Linked DNA regions of Homo sapiens: all the other regions are linked to region 1. Evidence: promoter capture Hi-C in 16 types of primary human blood cells and fetal thymus (Javierre and others, 2016). All regions are on one chromosome and are shown on one strand. Each heading gives the region's core, a stretch centred on a gene start or on the middle of the fragment in contact. The rest is flanking DNA. Distances are from core to core; before and after follow the strand shown. Region 1 holds the start of ZNF605 (zinc finger protein 605). Region 2 overlaps ZNF268 (zinc finger protein 268). Region 3 has its middle 10 kb from the start of ZNF268. Region 4 holds the start of ANKLE2 (ankyrin repeat and LEM domain containing 2). Region 5 overlaps ZNF891 (zinc finger protein 891).

Region 1 (3,541 bases), core at 719-3,218:
TGGGGAGGGGAGGAGAAGGGTGGGGAGCGGGGGAGAAGGGGCTTCAGTCACTCCTGCAGGTGAGGTGGGGAGGGGATGAGAAGGATGGGGGAGGAGAAGGGTAGGGAGGGGAGGAGAAGGGTGGGGAGGGGAGGAGAAGGGGCTTCTGTCCTGGGACGAACACACTGGTCTCCATTCACTCACTTCATCAGGTGCCCAAGTCAGGCGCTCACAGAGCCCCTCCCCTGTAACTGACATTCTGAGGCTTGCGCCACAGACCCCCTAAATTAGACCCCAGTCACTCAATGCCCAGGGATCCCTAATCCCTTATCCCCGGGGCCCCCAAGCATTCGCCCCCATGACACCCCATTCTCTAATCCACTCCATGCTGGAGCATTCACTGACATTCCCACAGGCCCTCCCAAACACCACCTGGAAAGGGATTGTGGGGCTCTGCACAAATGCCGATCCCGCAGGCCCCTCCAATGACGCCAAGTATGACCCCCGTTGTCCACGCACTCACAACTTGCAACAGGTCCACCATTAACTTACATCCAGACTCCCTTGTCACAAATACACAGCGCCATTCCTAATGCTTCCATCATAAGATCCCCAAACACAAGCACAGAAACAAACCCCAGCCACTCGCCAGCATAGGCCACCCCATACTCGCCTCCGCTATTGGAGACAGGGGTTGAAAGAGCAACCACTGTTATTCAGCTGTCAAATAAAACATACAACTGGACAGAGCAAAGAAAGACGGTTCCAAAGGGTTATTGGAAGTGGGGAAAAAAAGACGCGGAAGAGGGTTGGGAAGGGGAAGGAGAACGGGCTTCTGGGAAGAACCGTGAAGCCACGAGACTCACGTGCATCTCTGCAAGGCAAAAAGGGTTTTTCTTTCACAGAGAGGTGTGAACAAGGTTAGCAAAGACCAGGCCTGGCCAAGCGAGGTGGAAGTGCGGGCGACCAGACAGCAGAGCGGGGAAAGCTTGACCCTGAGCCAGCCTGTTCTCAGGCGAGGCTGCGTGTTGGCTCAGGCTGGGGATGGGCCAAAGCTCAAGAAAATGGGGAAAGGAAAGAAGCTTAGCTAAAGTTTGCTTAAGGAGCATTTTGCTCCGACCGCTCGGTGGAGTTCAGCCAGTCACCGATGAGGCAAGCGACGGCAACGTGGCAGGTCTGTGTGAACAAGGGGCATCCTGGAGGCTGACCAAAGTCATATAGGGAACGGGAGATCTTTGCAGTGAGCCATTTGCTGGAACCCAAAAGGGTGGGAAATTCCTCAACCTTCGCTGTTTTCCAGGAGCACAGGGCTCTGGTGAAATCCAACACTGTCACAGCCGGCAGGCTTTCCAGTGAATGGAACCCACACAAGCAAGCCCCTAAGCCCTCCAACGCAGGCCCCCGCAGAAGCCTCATCATTCACCCCGCTGGCCTCCAATGCTCACCCAAAGGCATCCAAATCATTCATCAGCAGAGTCCTAATCGCTGCAGACAAATCCTCCACACGGCCTCCCAGGGGCCCCTCTCCCCTGGGGCCAAGGGCAACCTCGCGTCCCCTTGCCCCGCCCGTGCTGCACCCCAAGTCTACAGCGACCTCCATAGGCCCCCAGTGAATCGCCCAGCTGACCCCAAATCTCCCCCGACACCCACATTCAGCGCCCCGCCGCCGCCCGCCCTACAGCCCCCACCCCACCCTCTGCCTCCCACCCCCGCGCGCCCCCAGAGCCCCCGCCTGAGGCCCGCCTTCCGCGCATGCGCCCAGGCCGGTCCGCAGGCCTTTCTCGCCCCAGCCGGCAGCCAGCTCGTTCGCGCTGGGGTCACCGCGAGCCGGTCCGCAGCGGGGTCACCGCGATCCCCGGCGCAGACACAGAGGCCGCCCCCAGCCCCGCCGCCTCGTGGTCCCGCCCCCGCTGCACGCTCCCTTACCCCTCGGACCTCGCAGGGCCGCGGCGGACACGGCCCGATCGGGGACGTGAACGCGCAGAACTACATTTCCCAGCGTCCCGCTCGCGCTGGAACTACACTTCCCGGGGGGCTCGGCGGTGCACCCGCCGGGGTCGCGGATTGGAGGTTTCCGGTTGGAAAAGCCCCTTGGCGGCTAACTGGGGAGGACTGGAAGAAATCTAGGATGGAGCCAGCACTGCTGGCCCAACATGTCTGTGAGAGAACCTAAAGGCGCCTCCAGGAGGAAGCGTCTGCATCTTTTCCTTGTTTTTTTTTTTTTTTTTTTTGGAGGCAGGGTCTCGCTCTGTCACCCAGTGGGGAGTGCAGTGGTGCCATGAACGCTCATTGCAGCCTCAGGCTGGTCTCCGACTCCTGGGTTCAAATGATCCTCCTGCCCCAGCCTCCCAAAATGCTGGAATTACAGGCATGAGTCACTGCGTCCGGCTGCTTTTCCATTTTTCATCGTAGCTGTAAGTAATATCGGTAAATGTTAGTGTTACGTGCGTCCGTATAGGAGACCACCTGAGCAGGCTAAGTGTGAGCAACACGCCTGTTTATTCACTTGGGTGCAAGTGGGCTGAGTCTGAGAAAGGAGTCAGCGGAGGGTGGTGGGCTTGTCATTGGTTCTTATAGCTTTGGGATAGGATAGGCGGTGGAGTCAGCAGCAATTTTTTTTTTTTTTTTTTTTTTTGAGACAGAGTCTCACTCTGTCGCCGAGGCTGGAGTGCAGTGGCGCGATCTCGGCTCACTGCAAGCTCCGCCTCCCGGGTTCACGCCATTCTCCTGCCTCATCCTCCTGAGTAGCTGGGACTACAGGCACCCGCCACCACGCCCGGCTAATTTTTTTGTATTTTTAGTAGAGACGGGGTTTCACTGTGTTAGCCAGGATGGTCTTGATCTCCTGACCTCGTGATCCGCCCTCCTCGGCCTCCCAAAGTGCTGGGATTACGGGCGTGAGCCACCGCGCCCGGCCTCAGCAGCAATTTTTTGCGGGCAGGGGAGGATGTTACAAAGTACATTCACAAGGGCGGGGAGGGTGTATTGTCACAAGGGCGGAGAGGAATGTTACAAAGTACATTCACAAGGACCGGGAATATTACAAAGTACATTATCACAAGGGTGGGGGAATGTCACGATGGCTTGACCATGGTGCGGCCAGCTCAGAGGACCTTACATTTAGTACATCCAATCCAGCAGTATTGACAAAAGGAATGAAAATAGATGATAGGGTTGGGCGCGGTGGCTCACGGCTGTAATCCCAGCACTTTGGGAGGCTGAGGTGGGCGGATCACCAGGTCAGGAGATTGAGACCATCCTGGCCAACACGGTGAAACCCCGTCTCTACTAAAAATACAGAACATTAGCTGGGCGTGGTGGTGGGCGCCTGTAATCCCATCTACTCGGGAGGCTGAGGCAGGAGAATCACTTGAACTCGGGAGGCGGGGGTTGCGGTGAGCCATCATGCCGCTGCACTCTAGCCTGGCAACAGAGTGAGACCTCATCTCAAGAAAAAAAAAAGGAAAAATAAATGAGATGAGGACATTACAGGGAAATAAAATATATTTATGGATATATAAAGCAGTGGCTTGTCCCTGTAGTCCCAACTACTGGAGGCTGA
Region 2 (3,541 bases), core at 464-2,963, 230 kb after region 1:
GTGGGTATTCCTACTGCCCTACCAAACCAGCCTATTAAGACGCCATTTGGTTTGTGGCAGGAAGTCCGTTTGGAGGCTAGGATGAGCCAGGACAGTTTTCTCTAGCTTTGCTGTTTGAGGGTCGTACCTGTATTTTTATCATGAAGGGCTCAAAACTTGACTTGAACTCTTGGTGCTAAGCCTTGTCAGGAAGCCATTTCTTTTCTGCCTCTAACCCTGCATTTCCTGAAGTTAAACCTGCCTTGTTTTCTAACGTGTTTCTCTCACATTTATGTGATGTGACCCCTATTTCCTTTTCCCCAAAGGAAATAATGCTCGCTAAAGTAAATTTGCTCTTGAGTCCACAGGTCCCACCTCTCCAAGAACGAAACAGTTCATGGGATAGGATCAGAAAGCTCCAAGGTCAGGAATCCATCTTGGGCCAAGGGACTCCTGGTCTGCAACCTCTCCCTGGAACACCCAGGCAGAAGCAGAAGAGTCGCAGAATAGAGAAAGTCCTAGAGTGGCTGTTTATTTCCCAAGAGCAGCCAAAAATCACCAAGTCCTGGGTGAGCTTCTCATTTGTTTATTCCTAGTGTTTTCTTTATTACCTTTTTTTTTTTTGGTGCAGAGAGGGATGGAGATCCTTAGGTCAGAGGGTTAAGTTAATCACTCCTCAGTTCAGTTCAAAACCCCCCCACTTTTTTTTTTGAGACAGGGTCTTGGTCTGTTGCCCAGAGTGGAGCGCAGTGGTGCAATCATAACTCACTGCAGCCTCAAACTCCAGGCTCAAGTGATCCTCCAGCCTCAGCCTCTTGAGTAGCTGGGACAGCAGGCAAGTGCCACCATGCCTGGCTGATGTTTTTTATTTTTAGTAGAGAGGAGGTCTCCCTGTGTGGCTCAGGCTGGTCATCAACTCCTAAGCTCAAGCAGTCCTCCTGCCTCAGCCTCCTGAGGTGCTGGGATGACAGTCATGAGCCACTGTGCCTGGCCCATGGCCCTTTTATCATCATTGGTTCATGTAAGGTCCTTATCTACCTTTATTTATATATTCTCTTATTTCCTCATACTCAATTTTCATCTCCTTTCCCATCCCCAAAAAGTTATTTTGTGTTTTATGTGTATCCTTTTTTTTAAAAAATGTGTGTTTACGTAATATGTATTGTTCGGGAAGCTTGTTAGAAATGCAGAATATCAGAGTTCACCTCAATGCTGTTAATATCAGACTCTTCATTTTAATAAGATTCAGTGATTCATGCACATTAAAGTTTAAAACAAACTTACTATGAAGCCTATATTCAAATTTTTTCCTCGGGTGCTTCTTTTACTTCCAATATTGGCTTGCTTTTTTAGTCTCTTAATGCTTACTTTTGATGAACAGATATTTCTAACTTTTACTGAGTCTGGATTGCAAATTTTTTTATTTTATTGCTAATGATTTTTGTGTCCTATTGTTTTCTTATCCTAAGCTCATAAAGATCTTTTTCTTTATTACTTTATTACTTTACCTTTCACTTTTCGATTTACAGTGCCTTTGGGATTGAGTTCAAATCCATGAACACAGGATTCCCCCATTATTTAGATCTTTGATTTTTAAAAGTCAATGTTTATAGTTTTGAGCATACAGATCCTACACAGATATTTTAGATTTATATGTAAGTTCTTTCTGTTTTGTTGTTGCTGTTGTAAACAGTATCAGTGTCTTAATTCCTTTTTTTTTTTTTTTTTTGAGATGGAGTCTTGCTCTGTCACTCAGGCTGGAGTGCAGTGGCACAATCTGGGCTCACTGCAGCCTCTGCCTCCTGGGTTCAAGCAGTTCTCCTACCTCAGCCTCCCGAGTAGCTGGGACTACAGGTGCGCACTACCATACCCGGCTAATTTTTGTATTTGTAGTAGAGACAGGGTTTCACCATGTTGGCCAGGCTGGTTTCAAACTCCTGACCTCAAGTGATTCACCTGCCTCGGCCTCCTAAAATGCTGGGAATACAGGTGTGAGCCACGGCATCCAGCTAGTTTCTTAATTTCAAAATCAAATGATTTATTGCTGTTATATAGGCATATAGCCAACTTTTATGTATTGACCATGTATCCTGTGACCTTGCTACATTCACTAGTTAGTTCTAGGAACTTTCTTAGGTTTTTTGGTATTTTCTTCATAAACAGTCGTGTCATCTTCATCTTTTCGTTGGCATCCTCAGTTTCCTTACTCTCTCTGTAAAAAAGGACAGTTTTGTTTCTTTCCAATCTGTATGCTGTTAACTACAAATTTTATTTCTTTAATAGATATGTAATAATTAAGCTTATCTGTTTGTTTGTTTTTTTGAGACGGAGTCTCGCTCTGTCGCCTAGGCTGGAGCACAGTGGCACGACCTCGGCTCACTGTAACCTCTGCTTCCTGGGTTCAAGTGAGTCTCCTGCCTCAGCCTCCTGAGCAGCTAGGACTACAGGCATGTGCCACCATGCCCGGCTAATTTTTTTGTATTTTTAGTAGAGACGAAGTTTCACCATGTTAGCCAGGATGGTCTCGTTCTCCTGACTTTGTGATCTGCCCGCCTCGGCCTCCCAAAGTGCTAGGGTTACAGGCGTGAGCCATGGCGCCTGGCCCAAGTTTATCTGTTTTTGAGTAAGTTTGGTAATTTGCGTCTTCCAAGGAATATGTCCTTTTCAACTAACTTAACCAAATTTATGTGCGCAGAGCAGTTAGTCTTTTCTTGTCTGTGAATTCAGTAATGATAACTTCTTTTCATATCTGATGCTTGTCATGTGTGTCTTCTATTTTTGCTTTGACGTAAGTTTTCATTTGTATAAATACCTGGGGCATAGTTGCTGGATTATATGGTAAGACTGTTTAGATTTGTAAGAAGTTGCCAAACTGGCTTCCAAAGTGACTCTACCACTTTTCATTCCCACCAGCAATGAATAAGAGTTCCTATTGCTCCACATCCTCTCCAGCATTTGGTGGTCAGTTTTTTGGATTTTATCCATTCTAATAGGTGTGTAGTGGTGTCTTACTTTTGTCTGGATTTGCAATTCCCTAATGACATATGGTATTGAGCATGCTTTGTATGCTCATTTACCATCTGTATATTTTCATGTTTAGGTCTTTATCCCACAGAGTGGCTGCTACTTACAGCAGTTACCTTTTTAGTCCATAAAGTTTTAATGTGTCTTCTCTTCTGGGTACCAATAGTGCCCTTTCACAGATTTCACCTGACACTGTCAAATAGCATTGCTTCCTTCTTCCTTTGTGCCTACGTTGTAATCTGTGTTCTTTTTTCTTAGCTTCTTTGACTTTCAGTTGCATTTGCATATGTAACTGTTCTTCATTCTGCAGTGCTAAAAGCTTCTTGGTGGCAGGACTGTATTTCATTTATGTTTATATTCCTGGACATAGAGGTTGGTAACTGTATTGCAGATGTAGGAGTGATCAGTCGAACTTGTTTGCCTGACTGTCCTGCCTTTAGTACTGAAGGTCCCATATCTGAGCACTCTTGTATAGGTGGTTTCTAGGATAGCTTAAAACTGTAAAGAGGCCGGGCGCGGTGGCTCACGCCTGTAATCC
Region 3 (3,541 bases), core at 524-3,023, 210 kb after region 1:
ATGGGTGGATCACCTGGGGTCAGGAGTTCGAGACCAGCCTGGCCAACATGGTGAAACCCTGTCTCTACTAAAAATACACACACACACACACACACACACACACACACACACAGTCGGGCATGGTGGCACACCTATAATCCCAGCTACTCAGGAGGCTGAGGCAGGAGAATCGCTTGAACCTGGGAGCTGGAGGTTGCTGTGAGCTGAGATAGCACCACTGCACTCCAGCCTAGGTGACAGAGTGAGATTCTGTCTCCAAAAAAAAATTAATTTTTAGAACATTTTCATATACCCCCTCCCCAAAACTTCATATCCATTAGTAATCAGACTAGGCAACCAATAAGCTACTGTTTCTACAGATTTGCCTTCTGAGAACATTTCATGTAAATAGTATCATGCAATATGTGGTCTTATAAGACTTGCTTCTTCCATTCAGTATAATGTTTTGAGGTTTATTTGCTCAGGCATGTACCAGTACTTAAGTCCTTTTTTGCTTAATAGTGTTACATTGTATAGATATGTCTCATTTTGTTTTTCAAACATTAGTTGTTGGATATTTGGGTTGTTCCCACTTTTTGGCTATTATGAATAATGCTTCTGGTAACATTTATGTACATGTCTTTGTGTGAACATTTCTGTTTGTTTTTTTTTAAGAGATGGAAGTCTCACTCTGTCACTCATGCTGGAGTGCAATGGTGTAATCATAGCTCGCTGAAACCTCGAACTCCTGGGCTCAAGCAATCCTCCGCCACCTCAGCCACCCAAGTAGCTGGGACTACAGGCATGTCACCATACCTGAATATCTTTTCCCTTATCTTGGGTAATGAGCTTTGCTAAAGAGCACTTTGGGAGCCTGAGGCTGGAGGATCACTTGAGGCCAGGAGTTTGAGACCATCCTTGGCAACGTGGTGAGACTGTATCTCTCCAAAAAAAAAAAAAAAAGTCAGGCATGGTGGTGCATACCTGTAGTCTTAGTTACTTGGGAGGCTGAGGTGAGAGGATCACTTGAGCCCAGGAGTTTGAGGTTACCTTGAGCTATGATTATACCACTGCACTTCATCTGGGGCAACAGAGCAAGATCATGTTCCTAAAAATAAAAATAAAATATAATATAATATATAAAATTTTTTAAAGCCTGATTTTTTTTAAAGCCTGACATACTTTTTTTTAAAGAGACACCCAGGCTGGAGTACTGTGGCATGATCATAGCTCACTGCAGCCTCAAACTCCTGGCTCAAAGGATCCTCCTGCCTCAGCCTCCTGAGTAGCTGGGACTACGGGTATGCACCCCCACCCCAGCTAATTTAAACAAATTTTTTTTAGAGATGAGGTCTTCTCAAATTGTCCAAAGTGCTTTGGTGGCATTAGCCACCACACCCAGCCTAGTTGACGTACTTAATCTACCTGAGATTTATTTTAAATATATTGTGAGACAGCCATCTTTATTTATATTATTATATAGCTACCTTGTTGTTCCTATACAGTTTATTGAAAAGTTTATCTTTTCCATAATGACTTTTCCCCTAATATTTTCTTATGAAAAATTTCAAACTTACAGAAGAGTTTAAATAATTTTACAGTAAACACTGATATTTCCAATTTTAAGCGGTTATCTACTGTGTTGAAATTTGCACTGATGGTACAAAACGATGGTGGGTAAAACTGCTGGCACTTCAGCATCAATCAAGGTAATAGCAAAAAAAGATATTTATTAGCAGCCATTGTATTCTTCATCACTACACGTTCATAGTTTTGTTTGTTTGTTTGAGACAGGGTCTAGCTCTGTTGCCTAGGTTGGAGTGCAGTAGCATGATCATAGCTCACTGCCGCCTCAAACTCCTGGGCTCAAGCAGTCTTCCTGCCTCAGTCTCCTGAGTAGCTAGAACTGTAGGTGTTCACCACCGTACCTGGGTAATTTTATTTTATTTAGAGATGGGGTCTCGCTATGTTATCCAGGCTGGTCTCATACTGCTGGCCTCATGTGATCCTCCCACCTCAGCCTCCCAAGTAGCTGGGATTACAGAGATGAGCCTCTCCACCCAGATTTGTATTTTTTAAAGGAAGTCAATTTAACTTTAGGATGTCTTTGATAAAGCAGTAAAGAGTCATTTTATTAAATATCAACTCTTAAATACATCTCTTTTTTTTTTGAGATGGAGTCTCGCTCTGTCGCACAGGCTGGAGTGCAGTGGCGCGATCTCGGCTCACTGCAAGCTCTGCCTCCTGGGTTCACACCATTCTCCTGCCTCAGCCTCCCGAGTAGCTGGAACTACAGGCGCCCGCCACCACGCCCAGCTAATTTTTTTGTATTTTTAGTAGAGACGGGGTTTCACCGTGTTAGCCAGGATGGTCTCAAACTCCTGACCTCATGATCTGCCTGCCTCGGCGTTCTTAAGTGCTGGGATTACAGGCGTGAGCCACCACGCCTGGCCTAAATACATCTCTTTTTAATATCTGTGCAATGAACGTTCTGTGCTGTATACTGAAGTTCCACAGTTGTCTCAAGAAAAAGCATTTGTGTGATTATTTACATTGAGAGGTGAACTTTACATTGGGAGCTGAACTTTGCATTAAAGAAGGACTGAGAAACCTTTGCAGGTATTCTCTCAAAAATCAACCAAGTAAACTTGTCACTTAAAGGAAGGCAAATGACAGGGTTTTATTATTTATTTATTTATTGGTCAATATAAAAGTAGAATTTTCAAGAGAAAAATACAATTTTGGTTTTCTTTCCCCAAGATGGCTGACTAGAGGCTTTTTCAGTTCACCTTATCCACTTCTATGAACCAAACTAGTGTCTGGGCAATCACACTTTGAACATATTATCCAAGAGGGAACATAGGAGTTCAAAAGAAAAGCAAAGGGAATCTCCAGAATCTGGGGAAGAGAAGGAGGGCAGGCAGCCTGCAGGGCTGCAATTGGCCAAAAACTGGGAGTGAATCCCTGATATGGGAGAGGGTAACTGAGTGCCTTTCTGTGGTTCATTTTCCCTCTAGGGAATTGTGCAATCCAGGCCACAGGAGAGCACCTTGATCCTCCTGAGCCCTGGATCTAACTTGGGAGCAGTCAGTAGACTGTGAGGAAGAGCTGCTTTGGGAAGTATCCCATGAACTCCTCTAGACCTGGGCGTCTACAATAATAGGATGTTATTCTCAATCCTAGCTCTTATAAAGCTGTACTGAGTCCAGGGAGCTAGCAGTGGCATCAGTTGACTGTGTTAGAGACTCATGCTGGGACTCAGGGAACTGGGGCTCAAGTTGGTGAGGGACTCCTACAGCCAGAATGGAGAATCAAGTCTGGTGTGTGCTCCAGCTGCTGGCACTTGAACTGGGCTGTCCCCACCTTCTGACTGGAGCAGGGGGAGAACTTCTGGGGAGGCATGGTATTGAGCCAGGCAATGACTCCTATTGCCTGGGGCTGCATTGCAGAATAGAAGGAAACTGCAGTGACTGAATAAATATGCAGATTGGCGGACACAGTCTGGGTTAGGGAGTGAGCCTTACTGGGACTGGGATGTGAGAGGGAAGCAGGCCCCACTCCT
Region 4 (3,541 bases), core at 459-2,958, 190 kb before region 1:
ACTACATTTCAAAAAAAAAAAAAAAAAAAAGTGGTAGGGCCGAGACACAAACTCACACAATTGGACAGGAATCCCCACTCAATCATCAGAAAGCACCTCTCCGCAGTGACTAACAGTCTGACAATTTAGAGTAAAAACAAACTCAGTTTCTCCCACTAGTCTTGCAACATGCTTCGGACACCAGGTATGTGGGGATTTTCTCCCCACAAATCACGCAGGTCGTCAGTTCTGCAGTGGACACAGGCTGGGTGTCGTCTGTCATCCTAATTCAGTCATCTATTCTGACAGCGTCTTCCTGGAGATACCAGCAGACCCCCACAGGTTAACGGCTCAGCCCCGCAAGACTGCCCCCCACTTCCAGTGCCCAGGTTGTTTGACCTGCGCTTGGGACCGACGGGGCGTAACCCGGTGACCTCCTCAGGTTGCGGTAATTTGCTAGAGTGGCTCCCGAACTCACAGACATGTTTTACTTACACTTACCAGCAGAGTATAAAGGATTACAAAGAATACAGGTGAAGAGATGCGTGACGTAAAACCGGGGGGAAGCGCTTGGAAATTCAGGGCCTCTCTGGGCACCGCCTCCAGGAACCCCCACGTACTATCTGGAAGCTCCCTGAACCCAGCCCTTTTGGGTTTTTACAGGAACTTCATTTCACAGGCGTGATTCATCAGCCACTGGTGATCAACGCAACCTTCACCCCTCTCTCCTCCCCAGAGGTTGGGGGTGGGGCTGAAAGTCCCCAGAACCTCTAACCCTGCCTTGGTCTTTCCTGCGACCAGCCCCATCCAGAAGCTCCCTAGGGGCTGCCGGCCACCAGTCCACTCAGCCTACAAAAGACATCACTTTGGAGGTTCCCGGGATTTCAAGAGTTGTATGCCAGGAAAAGGGGATGGAGCTGAAATACACAGTTCACTGTATCAGTTACCTCAAACTTAAAACGACCAAAACCCACCTCTGATCTCCACATCACCCAGACCCGACAGTCTACCGCAAAGCAATAAATGGCCACCTTCTCCCTCTTCCTCTGGCCCCAAACCCCTGAGTTACATTTGCCTTTTCCGTCTCTGCCTTATGTTCCATGACCAGTAACCGCAATGGCTTCACGTTCCAAACACATCCGGGACCCAGGGGTTTCCTCCCCGCGCCGCCCTCCTTTGGGCCATCCCTCCCCAGGTCTCGAGAGACCGCAGCAAGAGTCTCCGCTAACGCCTCGCCGGGCCCCCGCCGCCTTCCCCGGAGGCTGCTCCAGGGCCCGGGAAAGCTCTCACCCCCGAACCCGGCGTGGCCCCTCCGCCCCCGGCCCGGGAAGCCAAGTCCCCGCAACTGCCCTTTCCGCGGCCGGAATGGCCTTTCCCGACCGGCCCTGGTTTCCCCGGCCGCCTCGCCCAACTGCTGCCGGCTCCAGGGGCGCGGCCGGGACCCCAGGCCCGAGGAGGGCGTCGGGGCGGGGAAGGGGCCAGGGTGCGGGGACCCAGCGACCGCCTGGGCCTTACCTGAGGCGGGGGCGGCGGCCGCGCTTGGCGGAGGAACTGGGGTCCCGCTGCGGCCCAGACCTCCCGGCCGCGGGCCCAGCCGCCGCACCAGCCACCGCACAGCGATCAGCAGCACCGAGGCGCCCAGCAGCTCCCAGGCCAGCGCCGCCCACTCGGCCGCCGCCAGCCGCGGCCACAGCATCGCCGCCGCCCGGGCCGCAGCCGCCGAGAAGCCCGCGCCCCGCGCCGCGCCCGTCCCAGGACCCCGCGCCGGGCTGCCCGCGCCCTGCCTGACGGCGCCGCGCTCGAGGCGGCCGGGGCGGCGCGGGGGACACGGACGGCGGCCCCGCTCGCGGAGGCCCGGCGAGGGCGCGGCCCCGGCCCTGGGACCCAAGCGGGCGGGAACGGGCGAGCGGACGGGCGGGCGCGGCAGGCGGGGCGCGGGCAGCCCGACGCGGGGTCCTGGGACCGGCGAGGCGCGGGGAGCGCAATGTGCTGGCGGGGGCCGGGGCTGGGGCCCGGGGAGGCCACCAGGGCGGGGCCGGGCGCGGGGCGGCGCTTCTTCGCGCCTCCCGGCCCCGGCCTGGCGTCCGTGGGGCGCTGTGCGTCTCCGAGAACGAAGCGGCCTCCGGGTTCGTGTGCTCCGAGCCCGAGTACTGTTTGCGGCCGTCGTCCCGTCCTGGAGCAGGAGTGAGGAAGCGCCTCTCACTCCCCCGCGAACCCGCAGAACAGGCCGCCGGCGCTATGGAGACCGGCGGAGCTTCCCGCTCCTTCACCAAGGGGCCCTGACGCGCAGTTGAAAGCGCGGATTTTGCCGGGCGCGGCGGCTGCGTCCGGAGTCCCAGCGCCTTGGGAGGCGAGGCGGGAGGATCCCCACGGCCCGGGAGCTCGAGACCAGCCCGGGCAAATATTTTGAAAGTCATGGTAAAAGCCGCAATTACTTTTGCACCAACCTAATAGTGAGACCCTGTCTCGAAAAAGGGAAGGAGGATTTTACTGTATGTAATTTAGATGTTTTATTTATTTTTTGATGCGGTGTCTTGCTCTGTCGCCCAGGCTGAAGTGCAGTGGCGCGATCTCGGCTCACTGCAGCCTCCGCCTCCTGGGCTCAAGCGATTCTCCTGCCTCAGCCTCCCAAGTAGCTGGGATTACAGGTGCCCACCACCACGCCTGGCTAATTTTTGCATGTTTAGTAGAGACGGGGTTTCCTCATGTTGGCCAGACTGGTCTCGAATTCTTGATGTCAAGTGATCCACCAGCCTCGGCCTCCCAAAGTGCTGGGATTACAGGCGTGAGCCACCGCGCCCCGCCTAATTTAGATATTATTAAATGAAAATGAAAGACCTGAAAAATATAATTGATATCCTTGGTTAAAAACATAATTGATCTGAGCGAGGTGGCTCAGGTCTGTAGTCTCAGCAACTCTGGAGCGTGAGGGGTGATGGTAGTTTCAGTCCGGGAGTTCGAGGCTGCCATGAGCGTGATCTCGCCTGTGAATAGCCACTGCACGCCAGCCTGACCAACATAGCAAGACCCCATCTCTTAAAAAATATCATTGGATGGTACTAATGGTTGGTTGGGCACTACAGAAGAAAGGGTCAGTAATTTTGAAGATGGATGAAATGGAAATTCAAACCACGATGAGATGCTGCTTGAAATCCACCAGAATGGCTAAAATTTAAAAATTGGCAATATCAAATTTTGCTGGCAAGAGCAAACACTGAGTTAACCACCTTGGAAAATAGTGAGGCAGTTTCTTTCAAAGTTAAACGTACACCTCTGCTGTATTCTGAGTGTCTGTCCCCAGCGTTCGTATGTTGAAACCCTAACCCCCCTTGGCCGGGCGTGGTGGCTCACGCCTGTAATCCCAGCACTTTGGGAGGCCGAGGCGGGCAGATCACGAGGTCAGGAGATCGAGACCATCCTGGCTAACACGGTGAAACCCAGTCTCTACTAAAAAATACAAAAAATTAGCCGGGCATGCTGGAAGGCACCTGTAGTCCCAGCTACTCGGGAGGCTGAGGCAAGAGAATGGTGTGAACCCGGGAGGCGGAGCTTGCAGTGAGCC
Region 5 (3,541 bases), core at 525-3,024, 160 kb after region 1:
AACATTATATAGTTCACATATTCTGATCACTGCTTAGTACAGTTAGGTGTAAATAAATAAACAAGTAATTTAAACCAACCCACCCATTTTTCTACTCCTGAAAGAATGGTGGGAGTATCCCTCCGCCTCATGGCAAACACCAATACTTTTGTTTGTGCTCTAAACATCTACACCCCATTCTCAGAAGCTTATATTAAACTTTATTATGCTGCATATTAAACCTCACCATACTACATTCATCACATTAGAATTCAAACATGTTCTAGTTTTTCATATTTTAAACATATTATCTCTTTACTCCAAATCTCTCCAGCTACTACCCTTTCTCCTATTATTCAAACTTGTCTACATCCAGTCTTTACTTCTTTGCCCTTTATTGATTCCTAAAGTCAGCCCAATCTAGCAACCATCTTCATTATGTACCACTATGTTATTTCCAACTACAATCACAAATGATCTTCACTTGGCTGTATATGTTTACCTTTTTAGACTTCATCTAATTGGATCCCTAAGTAACACTAAAAACATTTACCTTCACCTTCCTTTTTTTTTTTTTTTTTTTGAGATGAAGTCCTGCTCTGTCACCAGGCTGGAGTGCAGTGGTGAGATCTCATCTCACTGCAACCTCTGCCTCCCAGGTTCAAGTGATTCTTCTGCCTCAGCTCCTGAGTAGCTGGGACTACAGGCATGTGCCACCACACCCGGCTAATTTTTGTATTTTAGTAGAACCAGGGTTTCACCATGTTGGCCAGGATGGTCTCGATCTGACCTTGTGATCCGCCTGCCTCAGCCTCTCAAAGTGCCAGGATTACAGGCGTGAACCACCACACCTGGCCAACTTCACCTTCCTTTTTGAAACTTGTTTGTCTTGGTTCAGTGAAACTCCACTCTTCTTGTTTTCCTCTTATCTCTCTACTATAGTTCCTTTAAATGTATGTCTTCAGGGTAGGTGGCAGACCTTCCCTTTTCATTCTTACTCACCTTCCAAAGCCTGTTATTGTCTCTTTACTGATGTCACTACAATTTATATCTCTATCTAGACACCTCCTCAATTCTAGAATTGCGTACCAACCTCTTCATCTGGATGTCTCACCATCCTCTGAGGCTAACATGAATAACTACAACAGCAGCTACTGCCTTCTTTCTTCCACCGTATGCCACTCCTTCCATATTTTGTTAGAACTAATCTGGTCAGTATCTGCAAGATCAAGCAGCAAAATCTCATGCTTTACTTAGCATTTAAAATTGGTAACTTCCCCTCTGTCTGAAAACTTTCTGTAGTTCCAATGCTGAAATGTTGGGATACTCTTTTTGCTGTTCTAAACACTTGCTTTCAGTGATCTTGGTTCTATCTTCATCTGCTGCTTAAGCATAAAAGCTCGGTCAACATTCCTTTTCCATACTTTTTTTCTATGTTCCTCTTCAAATGTGTACATCCAACATAAAACATTTAACTGTATATACTTCTGTTTTTCTACAATATGGTGACTGCGTTGACTGTATTTATGTAGTGCTTTAAAAAAAATCAGTAAGAGCCAGGCATGGTAACTCATGCCTGGAATCCTAGCACTTTGGGAGGCAAAGGCAGGAGGACTGCTTGAGCCCAGGAGTTTCAGACCAGTCTGAGCAATGTAGGAAGAGCCTGTCTCTACAAAATATATATTTTTAAAATTAGCCAGGCATGGTGGCATGCATTTGTGATCCCAACTACTGAGGAGACTGTGGTGGATCACCTGAGCCCAGGAGGTCGAGGTTGCAATGAGCCATGACCACACCACTGCATTCTAGCCTGAGAGACAGAGACTCTGTCTGAAAAATTGAAAAAAAAAAAGAAAAAATCAATTAACATATTTTTCTTGGCCGGGCACAGTGGCTCACGCCTGTAATGCCAACACTTTGGGACGCCTAGGTGGGTGGATCACCTGAGGTCAGGAGTTTGAGACCAACCTGGCCAACATGGTGAAACCCCGTCTCTATTAAAAATACTAAAATTAGCCAGGCATGGCGGTGGTGCCTGTAATCCCAGCTACTCAGGAGGCTGAGGCAGGAGAATCACCTGAACCTGGGAGGTGGAGGTTGCAGTGAGCTGAGATTGTGCCACTGCACTCCAGCCTGGGCAACATACCGAGACTCCATCTCAAAAAACAAACAAAAAACCTTATTTTTCTCATGTAGGAACATATCCAGATACAAGTAGTGCAGGGCTGGTACAACTATTTAAAGATTTCTTTGAGGAACAGGGATCTCTTTCTTCTACTTCATCCCTTGGCTACAGCTGTCATTTTCATGATCACAAGATAGCTCTTTCAGCAGCTTCAGGAATGGCCAATTCATAGGGACAAAGATGAAGTGCAAAAAGTAGAGGACAAGATAGATAGTTCTGATCCCAGTGATATGTCTATTTTTGAATCAGCAAGAATGAATGATATGGCTACCCTTAGCTACAAGAAGTCAAAGAAGCGTTCTATAACCAGAGACCTTATTGTTCTTGGCTAAGATGGAATTCATTAGTAAGGAAAGATGAGCTCAAATGTTTGGTTGGCTGCTAGCAATACCAGTCTCACTGGGCCAGAAAACAACTTTTATAAAAACACCAACAAAGCAGTAAAATATAGTCCAGATTCTCTGAACACAATGGAATTAACCTAGAAACCAACAATAAAAAGATAACTGAAAATATACCTACCTCACATATTAAAAATACCTAATTCTAAACAGCCATGGATCAAAAAAAGTCATAATTAGTATTTACAGAAAATGTTATATTAAAAAAAGAGCCATTTGTAACCTTAAATCGTTCTTTTAGAGAACAAAGACTGAGACAAGGAGCTTGGAATCCACCTTAAGACAATGAAAACAGCAATTCCACATTCATAACACTTACAGGGTTTCTCTCTCAGTATGAATTCTCTTGTGTATAATAAGTGAAGAGCTCTGACTGAAGGCTTTTCCACATTGAATACATTCATAGGGTTTCTCTCCAGTGTGAATTCTCACATGCCTCCTAAGGGAAGAGGAAACACTGAAGGCTTTCCTACATTCCTTACATTCATAGGGTTTCTCTCCAGTGTGAGTTCTTATATGCATTCTAAGGGATGAGACCCCACTGAAAACTTTCCCACAGTCACTGCATTCATAAACATTCTCTCCGGTATGAATTTTCTTATGAACTTTAAGGTGAGAGCTCGTGTTGAAGGCTTTTCCACACTCACTGCATTCATAGAGTTTTTCTCCAGTGTGTATTCTCTTGTGCACTATAAGGTAAGAGCTTGTGCCAAAGGATTTTCCACACTGATTACATTCATAAGGTTTCTCTCCAGTGTGAGTTCTCATGTGAGCCTTAAGGGATGTTTTTTGACTGAAAGCTTTTCCACATTGATTACATTCATAGGGTTTCTCTCCAGTGTGAGTTCTTACATGTCTCCTTAAGGTTGAGGAATCATTGAACACTTTACCACATTCTTTACATTCATATTGTTTCTCACCCATGTGACTTTTCTTGTATAAAGTAAGATTAGAAATCCTTTTGAAGGCTTTTCCA

What was found. The method cuts DNA at HindIII sites, captures the fragments that hold promoters and counts their contacts. A CHiCAGO score of 5 or more calls a contact.
Region 2: a contact is called between a fragment that was not itself captured here and the fragment with the promoter of ZNF605 in region 1, in 15 of 17 cell types (megakaryocytes, M1 macrophages, naive CD8 T cells and 12 more). The highest score is 12.0, in megakaryocytes.
Region 3: a contact is called between a fragment that was not itself captured here and the fragment with the promoter of ZNF605 in region 1, in 5 of 17 cell types (erythroblasts, naive CD8 T cells, monocytes and 2 more). The highest score is 7.4, in erythroblasts.
Region 4: the fragment with the promoter of ANKLE2 here is called in contact with the fragment with the promoter of ZNF605 in region 1 in 1 of 17 cell types (naive CD4 T cells); the score reaches 5.0 in naive CD4 T cells.
Region 5: a contact is called between a fragment that was not itself captured here and the fragment with the promoter of ZNF605 in region 1, in 2 of 17 cell types (megakaryocytes and M0 macrophages). The highest score is 6.8, in megakaryocytes.

What each region holds. Positions count from the first base shown.
Region 1 is chr12:132,954,338-132,957,878 of GRCh38, forward strand. It overlaps ZNF605 (zinc finger protein 605), which reads right to left and starts at 1,969. Exons shown (of 5, transcript NM_183238.4): 1 at 1,906-1,969. It overlaps LOC124903064 (a long non-coding RNA gene), which reads left to right and starts at 2,212. Exons shown (of 2, transcript XR_007063552.1): 1 at 2,212-2,393. RefSeq lists enhancers at 687-1,517, 946-1,240, 1,518-2,346, 2,100-2,179 and a silencer at 1,600-1,939. The HindIII fragment of the contact is 12,358 bases long and covers 1,060-3,541 here.
Region 2 is chr12:133,187,525-133,191,065 of GRCh38, forward strand. It overlaps ZNF268 (zinc finger protein 268), which reads left to right. Exons shown (of 6, transcript NM_003415.3): 3 at 348-548. Among named protein-coding and RNA genes, the nearest start is that of ZNF268, 7.8 kb to the left of the region's middle. The HindIII fragment of the contact is 1,125 bases long and covers 1,152-2,276 here.
Region 3 is chr12:133,169,269-133,172,809 of GRCh38, forward strand. No RefSeq gene overlaps it. Among named protein-coding and RNA genes, the nearest start is that of ZNF268, 10 kb to the right of the region's middle. The HindIII fragment of the contact is 7,086 bases long and covers 1-3,541 here.
Region 4 is chr12:132,760,124-132,763,664 of GRCh38, forward strand. It overlaps ANKLE2 (ankyrin repeat and LEM domain containing 2), which reads right to left and starts at 1,709. Exons shown (of 13, transcript NM_015114.3): 1 at 1,495-1,709. The coding sequence starts at 1,675. RefSeq lists enhancers at 1,055-1,923, 2,278-2,377 and silencers at 1,158-1,747, 1,838-2,127. The HindIII fragment of the contact is 14,066 bases long and covers 1-3,541 here.
Region 5 is chr12:133,117,404-133,120,944 of GRCh38, forward strand. It overlaps ZNF891 (zinc finger protein 891), which reads right to left. Exons shown (of 2, transcript NM_001277291.2): 2 at 1-3,541. The coding sequence ends at 2,881. Among named protein-coding and RNA genes, the nearest start is that of ZNF891, 11 kb to the right of the region's middle. The HindIII fragment of the contact is 3,178 bases long and covers 186-3,363 here.